Linked DNA regions of Homo sapiens: regions 1 and 3 are each linked to region 2. The links are contacts of gene promoters, found by promoter capture Hi-C in blood cells and fetal thymus (Javierre and others, 2016). All regions are on one chromosome and are shown on one strand. The core of a region is centred on a gene start or on the middle of the fragment in contact, and the rest is flanking DNA. Distances in the headings are between cores, read along the strand shown. Region 1 overlaps MARCHF1 (membrane associated ring-CH-type finger 1). Region 2 holds the start of NAF1 (nuclear assembly factor 1 ribonucleoprotein). Region 3 has its middle 340 kb from the start of FSTL5.

Region 1 (3,687 bases), core at 263-2,762, 520 kb after region 2:
AGTGTGAGAACGGGCTAATACATAGATATTATAGTTTAGTACAGCAAAATAATTTCAGTCAAGTGGCATTAAAATGTATTGTTGTAATAAAATCAGTATATTTTGATAATTTTTTGACAAATAGAAGTATAATATCTTGAGTAAGTGGTGCCTTTTCTACTTTGCATAGAGGTGCCACTAAGGATTGGTGGTAGACCTCAGTTTGATATTTATGATGTATTAGTCTGTTTTCACACTGCTGATAAAGACATATTTGAGACTGGGCAATTTGCAAAAGAAAGAGGTTTAATGGACTTACACTTCCACGTGGCTGGGGAGGCCTCACAATCATGGCGGAAGGTAAAAGGCACATCTCACATGGTGGTCGACAAGAGAAGAGAGCTTGTGCAGGGAAACTGCCTCTTATAAAACCATCAGATCTTGTGAGACATATTCACTATCACAAGAACAGCACGGGAAAGACCTGCCCCCATGATTCAGTTACCTCCCACCCATTCCCTCCCACAACATGTGGGAATTCAAGATGAGATTTTGGTGGGGATGCAGCCAAACCACGTCAATGATCTAGATTTTGGAAGCTGTAGAGACTAGACTGTCTCTCATCTAAAAAATATTAAAGATAAGGGACTAACCAAATCTTGACAGTAATGCAGAATGAAGAAAAAAAACTAGTTGGAACGAGGTGTATTTACACTGATAGGGAACAAGGCTCATATTTTCTGTTAACTTAAATAGTCCTTAACAAAATCAGGTCTTCCTGCTGGGGTAAAGGGACCTGCTTGGAAAAGGTCCATGCATGTGTTCGACTTATGATAGCTGAGAAACACATTATTTCAAAACTTAGTGGCTTAAAATGATGACAATTTATTTTGCTCACAACTCTGCATTCTGGACATGGCTCAGCAAAGATAATCCTTGGGGCTCTGCTTGGTATCAGCTAAAAAGGATTGAAGGCTCAAGGCAGACATCATGTGGAGGCTCACTCACTCACTCACTCACTCACTCACTCACTCACTCACTCACACGTCTACCTGCTAGGCTGGGGCTGAAACAGCTGAAGCTCCTTGGGCATCTCTCTCTCTCTCTGGAAACCGTGTGATTTCTCCAGCATGGGGGCTTCAGGGCAGCCAGCATAGCCTTTATGCCTCTCAAGGTATGTACCATGAAAGGCAAGAGTTGTATCACCATTTATGACCTTGCCTTGGGAGCCACCACGTAGTACCTCTTAAGCCACCTTCAGTTGGTCAAGGAAGTAGCAAAGGTTCGCCTAGTTTCAAGGAGAAGGGAACATAGGGCCCTCCAATTAATAGAAGAGTGTCAATGTCCCATTGTAGGAAGAACATGTGGCAGGGATTGTATGTTGGTGTAGCAAGTAAAAGGAGCTCTAGAAAAATCATGAAATATCAACTGGAATATATGTTGCCCATGTCAGAAAGAATTCCAGTTTGGACAGTCTCAAGAAAAGAAAAAAACAAAACAAACATACAAACAAACAAAACTGCTACAGAAATGCCTCAAAAGAAAGCCAGCATTTGGCTACATGTCACACCAATTCCTCAACACCAGATTTTGAGAGCACTACCATTTGTTCTTTTTACCAAGCTAGAAATTCCTTCATAAGATTCATCTCTATTTTATTCTGTATTTCATTTCTAATTTTATCTGATAACTCCTATTTCTTCATTTTAAATCATGAAATGACCAATATCATGATCAATATTTACTTCTTCTTGTTACCAGCATTGCTTAAGTACTCAATAGCCCATATCCAGTTTATTTTATTGCCTCTGGGCATTTCTCTCTTCCCTTTGCTCCTCCAATCTATCCTATATATTGCTACCAATGAATCTACTTTTTTCTAGCATTTTATGAAATTTTCAAATAAACACAAAAGTTGAAAGAATTATGCAGTAAACATCAGTATATCCAACATCCACATTTCTGAAACTTTTCTAATTTTACTTTATCACATATTTATTCAGCTATCCATCCCTTTATCCATTCATAAATGTATCTTGTTTCCACGATGCCTGTCAAAGTAAGCTGCACACTAAAGTACACCTCATTCCTAAATAATTCAGAATGCATATCATTAACTATTAAACAGCATTGAATATTTGTGTACATTTATTTTGTTAGGTAAAATTTACATATACAGTAAGTCCTGCTTAACATTGTGAATAGGTTCTTGGAAACTGGCTTTAAGAAAAATGATGGACAGTAGGTCCTCAACTCCCTTCATTAAAAATCGTTTTATTACAACATTTCTGACAAAAAATATCTGGTTTTATTACACTTTTTTTTTTGCATAAAGGTGCAGTTTCTCAGAACATTTTGACGGCAGTTAAGTGAAGACTTAATGTAGTGAAATGCATAAATCTTAAACATGTGACAAGTTTACAATGCCTCATATTAGTAAGCTCCATTTTAATTATCCTATTCCCCTTCTCAAGAAACCCAAATAGTTTACTATTGACTAGCAAAATAAGTCTCCCAATCTTTTCTTAATACAACTGCATTAATTCTCCAATTATTTATTTTATTTTTATTTTTATTGTCTTAGACAGAGTCTCACTCTGTCACCCAGGCTTGGAGTGCAGTAGCGTGAACTCAGCTCACTGCAACCTCCGCCTCCTGGGTTGAAGCGATTCTCCTGTCTCAGCCTCCCAAGCAGCTGGGATTACAGGCATGCGCCACCACCCCAGGCTAATTTTTGTATTTTAGTAGAGATGGGGCTTTACCATGTTGGCCAGGCTGGTCTCAAACTTCTAACCTCAGATGATCCACCTGCCTCAGCCTCCCAAAGTGCTGGGATTACAGGAGTGAGCCACCACACCCGGCCAATTCTCCAATTATTTTTGAAATCACTCCCCTTTTCTTTGATAGTATTGGTCCTACATAATCTGTGATGCCAATTTACACTTTTGTGTGTGTCACACTGAAGAAAAGTCAGAGAGGATTATGGAGGTGGTTTGGCACTTTGATCTGTGGACAAATAACTCCTGGAGTACAGCACCTGGTTAAATATGCAGGCTCTTCCACTAACTTGTTTTTGGACTGAGGGCAAATTATTTAGTATAAGTCTTAGTTTCATAATCTTCAAATTGTAAATCTGTCTAGAAGGGTTCTTGTCAGGTTTAGTAATAACATGTGTATAGTACCTACTGGAATGCTTAACACATAGTAAGTGCTTAATAAATTATATATAGCAGATGCTTACTGAGTGATCTTATTAATATTAGTAAGACATAATAAAGTTCTAAACTCCAGAAATTTTAAATTCAATCTTTTGTTGTGTTAATAAAATAATTTTCCATATCAAATAATGTTTTTACCTCAGATATAATAAAAAATAATTTGATTATGCATTAAGCAGCAAACAAAGCTTCTTGTTATACTTGGGCAGAAAAAGGTCTATCTACAAATTATATGTTGCTCTGTTTCTTCATTGGGGTTCACATGGGAGTGAATAAACGTAATAGGGAATAAGATAAGTGGAAAGTTGAATGGAGGCACCAAATTTCTGTTATTAGCTTGGTGCAAAAGTAATTGTGGGTTTTGCCATTGAAAGAAATGGCAAAACTCACAATTACTTTTGCACCAAGCTAATAACATTTTTCTTCAAATCTCCTTTAACTACCTTAAATATATACTTATCAAACTATATAATAAGCTCTAATTTTCTAA
Region 2 (3,940 bases), core at 44-2,543:
TGACTTCCCTGAAAACTAAACTTCTCACCTCCTCAACACGTGTCTATCTTGTTAACCTGTTCAGTACCCCACTCAACACACTCAACTATTTGTAGACAATGTTCAGTGTGGTTTAGTAACATCCCACATGCTGGAGTCCTCTCCAGCCCAGAGATTTCATATTTAAAAGACAGGTGTGGGGGCAAGGGGGAAAGGCTCTCACAAAACGTAAGAAGCATAAGATACTACTAAATAACACTGTTTGGCTACTTTCATAAACACGTGTTCCCTGCAAGGATTCTATAAATTAACGTAATCATCAAGAGCCAGCTTTGAAACACAAAAAATAATACTTTTCCTGATCCCCAATGTATGTGGTTCAAAAAACAAAGCCTAGATGTGATGATAAAAAAAAATCAGATCTGACACAAAACTCAACTATAACCACAAAAGTACAGCCTAAACTGAGTAGTTACGGAAATAACCTAAGATCCTCGGGTTTTCTAAAGTCTAACAAAAAATGATACGATCTATACATAGAACCCTTCAGGCCACCAAATTTAGGAAATAAGTCAGTACTAAGCTCAGATTCACAACGCGACCTGCTTTGAGAGGCAGCGAATAAGGGGCAGTCGGAGCCAATACTTCAACACGTGAGCCCGGAGCACCAACGACCTGCCCACCCTCCAGGGCCCACACAAGCAACCTCTAGGCTCCTAGGCCCCAGCCACCCCCGCCCGTCATACAAGACCTCTCCCCACAGCTCCGGGTCCCTTAGGCACCCGACCTGTCCGAGTCCGAATCCGAGTCCGAGGTCTCCAAGGAGTCCGGCGCCCGCGCAGGCTCTGCGGCTCCTGGGGAGGTGACGCAGTCTCCGCAGGCCGGCGATTCAGCCGGTGGCTGTGGCTGCGGCGCCGGGGTCCCGGCCGCGACGGCGTTCAGAACGGGCTGCAGAGGCTGCTCCCCGGCAGGCTTAACCTCCACGGTCTGCCCAGCGTCCGGGGACCCCTCAAACGACTGTAGCGGCGGCTGTGTCCCTGGCACAGGGGCAGAGCCCGGAGACGGAGCCGCCGGACCTTCCCCAACTCCAAAGTCGGTGCCATTGAATTTCAGAGTTTCCAGCTGAGCGGCGGCGGCCTCCACTACCTCCATCGCACCGCGCCAGAAACCGGGTCGGCCTCAGGATTGGGGCCCCTGGACAAGCTCACGGCTCTCTCCAGAAATAGAAAAACAACTTAGGCAACCGCAGCAACACTGCCTGGGCCCAACTTCCCGCGTTTCTCAGGTAACTACACGCGGAGGAGCCAAAAGACACGCCCCCGCCATTTACGCAGCAACGCTTTCCGAAGAGCGTGTGACGTATGTGGCGCGACGGCGCGACGGCGCTCGCGGGGGCAGGATACATGCGTCATATCTTCGAAAATCAGGATTAGGGGGTCGGGCGCCGTGGCTCACGCTCGTAATCCCAGCACTTTGGGAGACCGAGGTGGGCGGATCACAAGGTCAGGAGTTCACAGACCAGCCTGCCCAACATGGTGAAACCCCATCTCTACTAAAAATACAAAAATTAGCTGGGCATGGTGGCGCGTGCCTGTAATTCCCACTACTTGGGAGGCTGAGGCAGGAGAATCGCTTGAACCCAGCAGGCGGAAGTTGGAGTGAGCCGAGACCGCGCCACTGCACTCCAGCCTGGCGAGAAAGCGAGACTCCGTCTCAAAAAAAAATAATCAGGACTAGGGAGGCCCTAAATCGACCGTTTTCACTGCGTCATGTGAACCATTCAAGGCCTGAATGTCGGATTTTCCTATTGCTGCATGTGAACCAATTCTGCTTGAAGCGCCAAAATGAAGCAGGGATTATACAACAGGGGGGTGCCTGAAGAATGCTAAGTTCTGTACATCAGAAACTTGAGCCAGGAAGTCTTGACAAGACGCTAGTAACTTCATGAAAGTTAAATGAAGTTTATCCATCAATAGATCCATCTGTCGATAGATAGGGTATTAACCATTTTTTCAAAAATGTAACTACAACTATTCCATTTTCCTTTCTCCAAAGTACCCTCAAAGAGAGCAGTAATGGACAAAATTTTGCTGTGTTGTTCATGTTATGGTGATGTCTATATCATACTTAGCACTGTTTCGTAGTAGAGAGATGAGACTATGAGACTGAAATGTACTCACTTATTGTTGGAAACCACTAGTCTAAATTGTGGAGAAAGCAAGCAGAGTTCTTAGGACTGAGGAAGAGATCAGAATTTTCTGGTTTCCTATTAGGTCTTCAGTTTGAGGCATCAGTCCCTGTGTAGTAATAATAATCATTGATACCATTTGTTAAACATGCATATGTGCCAAGGACTGTGCTAAAGATTTTATAAATTATTCACTGAGAATTTAGTGTGTCATCTACAACAGTAGATCTTCATAGAAATGCAAGGCAAGTGTAATAAGAGTAAGGTTTTAAGAAGCTTACAATCTACTTGAAGTAGAGAAGGGCAATGCACAGGAGATAACTAGAAAAATATTTGAAATATGAAATAGAAAATCCAAGTGCAGCAGAAATGGGAAGTAGGATTGGTAGGCTATTTCATGGAAATCCTCCAAAGTGAAGAAGGACTTTAAACTTGGGATACGAACTTACTAGCACAATGATTAAGCAGAGCTCAGAGTTTTCAACTAAAAAGACCTGTGTTCAGGCCTCAGCTCTACCATTTTGTGTTTGGTGTTACTGACTTTGGGCAGTTAATCTAAATCCTAATTTCCTTATCTGTAAAATGGAGATAAAAATACTATCTCATTTAGTTCATGTGAGCACTAAGTAAGGCTTTATATAAGGGAGTGGCATGTCATACATTCAGTGTGCAAAAATACTTGGAAAATGGAACAATGCATGAACTCACGAATAAAATATTTAATTAACAATGATCTTGCAAAGACATGCAGTACAGATTTGAGAAGGGAAGACGTTTGAGCCAGAATTATTCCCCAGCCAGCCACTTTGTTGCATTTTTCCAGGAATTAGGTGATAAAAGTCTGAACTAGGCTTACAGTCAATGAAATAGAGTAAAGGACATCCCCAGCATCAGGGGAAGAATAAAAGTACTCTAAAATTTCTGGTCAAGGAAATTAGAAAGAAGTTGGTATTACCAATAAAAACGGAGAAGTTGGCCAGTCGCAGGGCCTCACGCCTGTAATTCCAGCATTTTGGGAGGCTGAGGTAGGCAGATCACCTGAGGCCGGGAGTTTGAGACCAGCCTGGCCAACATGACGAAAACCCATCTCTTCTAAAAATACAAAAACTTAGCTGGGCATGGTGGTGGGCACCTGTAATCCCAGCTACTTGGGAGGCTGAGGCAGGAGAATCGCTTGAACTCAGGAGGCAAAGGCTGCAGTGAGCCAAGATTGCACCATTGCACTCCAGCCTAGGCAACAAGAGGGAAACTCCCTCTCAAATTAATTAATTAATTAATTAAACGGAGAAGTTGGAAAGAGATGTGGGTATGTGAAGTTGAGTCTGAAGAAAAACTAGACAATTAAAAATGTAAATAGGCATTTAAAAATAAGAAACTGGAATTTGACAGAAAGGTTAAGACCAGAAGCCTAAGTTATGGGATAATTGAAATACTCATTTGTTCATTCAGTAATCATTTTCTTAACATTACGATATGCTGTGCACTGCATTATAAACTATGCATACAGGAAGATAAACACAGTCCCTACCCTTATGGAGTTAACAGTTCAGTAGAACAGACAAGTTGAAAACAAGCAGAAGGTACTATAGTAGAGAAATGTACCATGTAAATGCAAGAATGTATGAAATGGGAAAACTAAAGACAGAGAAGATACTTGGAAAATTAAGGAAAATGTACTATAAGAGATATATCGTGGCTATAAGAGTAATTATAGCCATAAGGCTCACTCAAGTGTCTTGAGGGGCTGACACTAAATGTATTTATCAATATAAT
Region 3 (3,706 bases), core at 1,001-3,500, 660 kb before region 2:
TGCTAAGGGAATTGCAGGAATAATTAAAGTATAATTATTTATATTCAAGCATGAACTTTTGTAAAGTGAATATTAAGTCCCCTTCTCAATGTCAGTAGTCTTTGCATGGTGCACTATCTGTTTATGTACTTGGGGTCAATAAATCATCTAGGTAAGAGGCCAAGCACAAAGCCTCTGATATGGTAGCTTAGCAGATAACTGGGAGATATTTCAAAAAAACCTCTGTTGTTTAAATTGCTATAAAAATAATTTTTAAGTCACAGCCTAATAATAAAAGAATGCTTTCATAATCAATGAAAAATCAAGTGCCTAATGCATTTTTTAAAATTAGTCTTAATGTTGTCTTTCTTTAAATTTCTCAAAGTAAAATAAAAACAGGAAAAAAAAATTTCCTCTCTCCCACCCCTCCAGGGGATGGCGGAGTGCGAGGGGGTTGGGAGGGCGAGCGTGGAGAGGTGCAATGGGCAGGGCCCATTTGGTGGCAAGAAATCAAGATCCAGTTCACAATGGCTTATCCAGTGAAAAGGTAAATCACTGGATTCTCCTAACTCAAAAGTCAAAGCTGTCTGGCTTTAAGCACAACTAGACCCAATTATCCAATTATTAAAATATGTTTCAAATCTACACCTTTTCAACTTTGGACATCGTTTTCCCCTATAGGCTTTTTTTAAGATACACTTTCCCCAGTGTTACATTTTGTTTTGTCTCCATGAATGTAAATATATTTTTAGTTTCCCAGCCTGGTTTTCCTGGGTTTGGCTTGAATCATCGCCTCTCTGTGAACCAACTCCTGCAATCCTAAGTATCTCCACTGGATCACATAACTAGGTTTAGAATTAGGAGGTGAAACCAAAGCGATCTAAATCACACTGCCTGAAAGTGAGAAATAGTTGGTTCTTCACATGAAAATAAGCACTTGCACTCCCCAGTAGAAGAGGAAAGCATTGTCGATCCGGTAAAAAGAACTGTGGATAAGAGGCAATTCTCAAATTGGAAATCTAATTTATATATTTGCCCAGGCATGAGGGAAGGGAGAGTGGATTGCAATCTCTTGCATATGTATGATTTTATATTTTGACCATGTGGTTAGACAATCATCTGCTAGGAGTGATTCTTAAATAACGACAACACGAACATAATTGTCATCATAATGCCACATCATATCCACAGGCCTTGGAACAAAGAAGAGTTATTGGCTATATTTGAAAGAATAATGCTTAGATTGTCTACCCAAGGTATTGCATTTATAAATGATGTGTATTTTACACCATGATGTGGGAGGCGGGTAGAAAACTTAAACACTATGACTGAACATTTAAGGAGTGGAGAGTTATGTTCCTCTTCCTTGAGGGCAGAGTATCTACTTATTTGAAATTCTTCTGCATGGGAGAATCACCTATTCTCTTCATTTATTTATTTATTCAATCATTTATTTATGTAAGTATTGGCTCATGAATATTTATTTTATATTTAGATGTATAATCCAGTACTACTTTATTTTTATATTTTTGCTCAAATTGTCCCAGCTTTGGCCATTAGAGGCTCTTTTAATTGCATCCTGTGTCACTTTGACATACTCTCATCATTGTGTGTGTGTGTGTGTGTGTGTGTGTGTGTATGTGTGTGTGTATGTGCATGTGTGTTTGTGTGCTTTGGGCACCTATCTTTTGATGCTACAAGGTGTTCCAGTGAAGGAGTAAAATTACTGGAGAATGGTATGAAAAACCAAGATCTGGACACTAGGTGTGCTCGTTGCTACTGGGGTGTCATTGTTTCCAGAGATGCTCAATTAATAGAGCAGGAAATACAGATATATACTATCCTATGACTACATATATATAGTAAATATTTCTACATATGGCCATTGTATCTATATTAAACTAAATATGAGGTCATTTTGATGTCTTCAACTCTAATCCTTCATCAGAAATCATATGACTATCAGTGTGTGAATCTCTTTCTGGTCCATCTAGTTTGTTCCACAGATCTCTCTGTCTATTCTATGTCAATAACACATTGCCTTGTTTACTGTCTCTCTATAAAAAGAGGCATTAAAAATGTTCCAACTGTGCTCTTCTTCTTGATTGTGTTGGTTATTCTAAGGCTTTTGACTTTCCATGAAAAATTTAGGATCAGTTTGTCAATATCTACCAAATACCTTCCTTGGATTTTGATTAGAATTTTCTTGAATCTATAGATCAATTGGGACAAATTGACATCTTAACAATATTGAGTCTTCCAATTTGTGACCACAAAATATCTTTTCATTTATTTAGAGCTTCTTTTTTTCTTTCATTACATTTCTTTAGTTTTCCACTTACCAACATTATGTATTTTCTTAGATTTGTGGTGAAGTATTTCATATTTTAGTGATATTGCCAATCTTATATTATTTAAATTTTAAATTTCACTTGCTTATTGCTGGTATACAGAAAAGCAATAGACTTTTGCATAGTAATTGTGCATCGTTTAACCTTGCAATAACTTGCTTATTAGTTTTCCGTACATAATGTTGAAGATAGCAGTTACAGGATTTGCTGATGGATTGATTGTTTTAAGACAAAGAAAATTCAAAGATTTTGACTTGGATAAATGAGGTGGTGCTTATTATAATGGAAAAGAAAACCAGAATGGGAGGCTTAGGAAGTATAATTTCAGAAATCCAATATTGAGATACCAAATATTCAACTGGAAATGTCAAGAAGCCTGGAGTTTATGAAAGAAATCTGGTTTAGAGACAGACATTTGTATTGATTGGCATGTGTGTATACATATATATATTTTGAAAAAGTATACATATTCTATATATATGTATATATAGTATAGTCTATACTTATAAATTATATCCCATAGTTTAATATATATATGTGCTATATTACATACACAGAAAGAGTACTATACTATATATAGTAGTACTATACTGTATATATATATAAGCATATATATGTATGTATACAGAGATTGAATGAGAAAACTTAAGTAATAAGATAAGTTAGAAAACACCTATGTCATGGATTGAGGTCTGAAATGTGTAAAAGTTTAAACGACTAGAAGAGGAGCAGAAATCATCAGAGAAGCTGAGAATGAGTTTCCAAATATGCAGATCCAGAATTAAAAAAGAGAAAAACCTCTAAAATCAAGTGAAAAGAGGGCTTCAATAAAAGGTAGTGACCAACTACATCTAATACAGCTGATAAAACATTTATGCTCAGAGAAATTACCATTGAATTTGTCAACATTGGTTACCTTAACAAGAGCTATTTTACTGGAGCAACGGGGTGGAGGGGGAAGACTGAAGAACCTTCAAGAAAAAGATTAAAAGGTACAAAAAGGATGCAGTTTGCACTGACAACTCATTAAGAAAATTTTGTTATAAAGAGAAGCAGAGGCCGGGCGCGGTGGCTCACACCTGTAATCCCAGCACTTTGGGAGGCCGAGACGGGTGGATCACGAGGTCAGGAGTTCAAGACCAGCTTGGCCAAGATGGTGAAACCACGTCTCTACTAAAAATACAAAAAAAAAAAAATTAGCCGGGCGTGGTGGCACGCACCTGTAATCCCAGCGAGTCCGGAGGCTGAGACGGAGAATTGCTTAAACCTGGAGGGGCGGAGCTTGCAGTGAGCCCAGATAGCACCACTGTACTCCAGCCTGCTGGGTGACAGAGGGAGACTCCGTCTCAAAAAAAAAAAAAAAAAAAGAGAAGCAG

The links. The method cuts DNA at HindIII sites, captures the fragments that hold promoters and counts their contacts. A CHiCAGO score of 5 or more calls a contact.
Region 1: a contact is called between a fragment that was not itself captured here and the fragment with the promoter of NAF1 in region 2, in 1 of 17 cell types (naive B cells). The highest score is 5.1, in naive B cells.
Region 3: a fragment that was not itself captured here is called in contact with the fragment with the promoter of NAF1 in region 2 in 1 of 17 cell types (M2 macrophages); the score reaches 5.6 in M2 macrophages.

Annotation. Positions count from the first base shown.
Region 1 is chr4:163,682,912-163,686,598 of GRCh38, forward strand. The region is part of intron 5 of MARCHF1 (membrane associated ring-CH-type finger 1); the gene reads right to left. The region is part of intron 1 of LOC107986325 (a long non-coding RNA gene); the gene reads left to right. Among named protein-coding and RNA genes, the nearest start is that of TMA16, 190 kb to the left of the region's middle. The HindIII fragment of the contact is 3,742 bases long and covers 1-3,383 here.
Region 2 is chr4:163,165,597-163,169,536 of GRCh38, forward strand. NAF1 (nuclear assembly factor 1 ribonucleoprotein) reads right to left here and starts at 1,294. Exons shown (of 8, transcript NM_138386.3): 1 at 767-1,294. The coding sequence starts at 1,131. RefSeq lists enhancers at 439-1,306, 798-877, 908-1,027, 1,048-1,247. The HindIII fragment of the contact is 3,845 bases long and covers 1-2,441 here.
Region 3 is chr4:162,500,296-162,504,001 of GRCh38, forward strand. No RefSeq gene overlaps it. Among named protein-coding and RNA genes, the nearest start is that of FSTL5, 340 kb to the left of the region's middle. The HindIII fragment of the contact is 6,861 bases long and covers 1-3,706 here.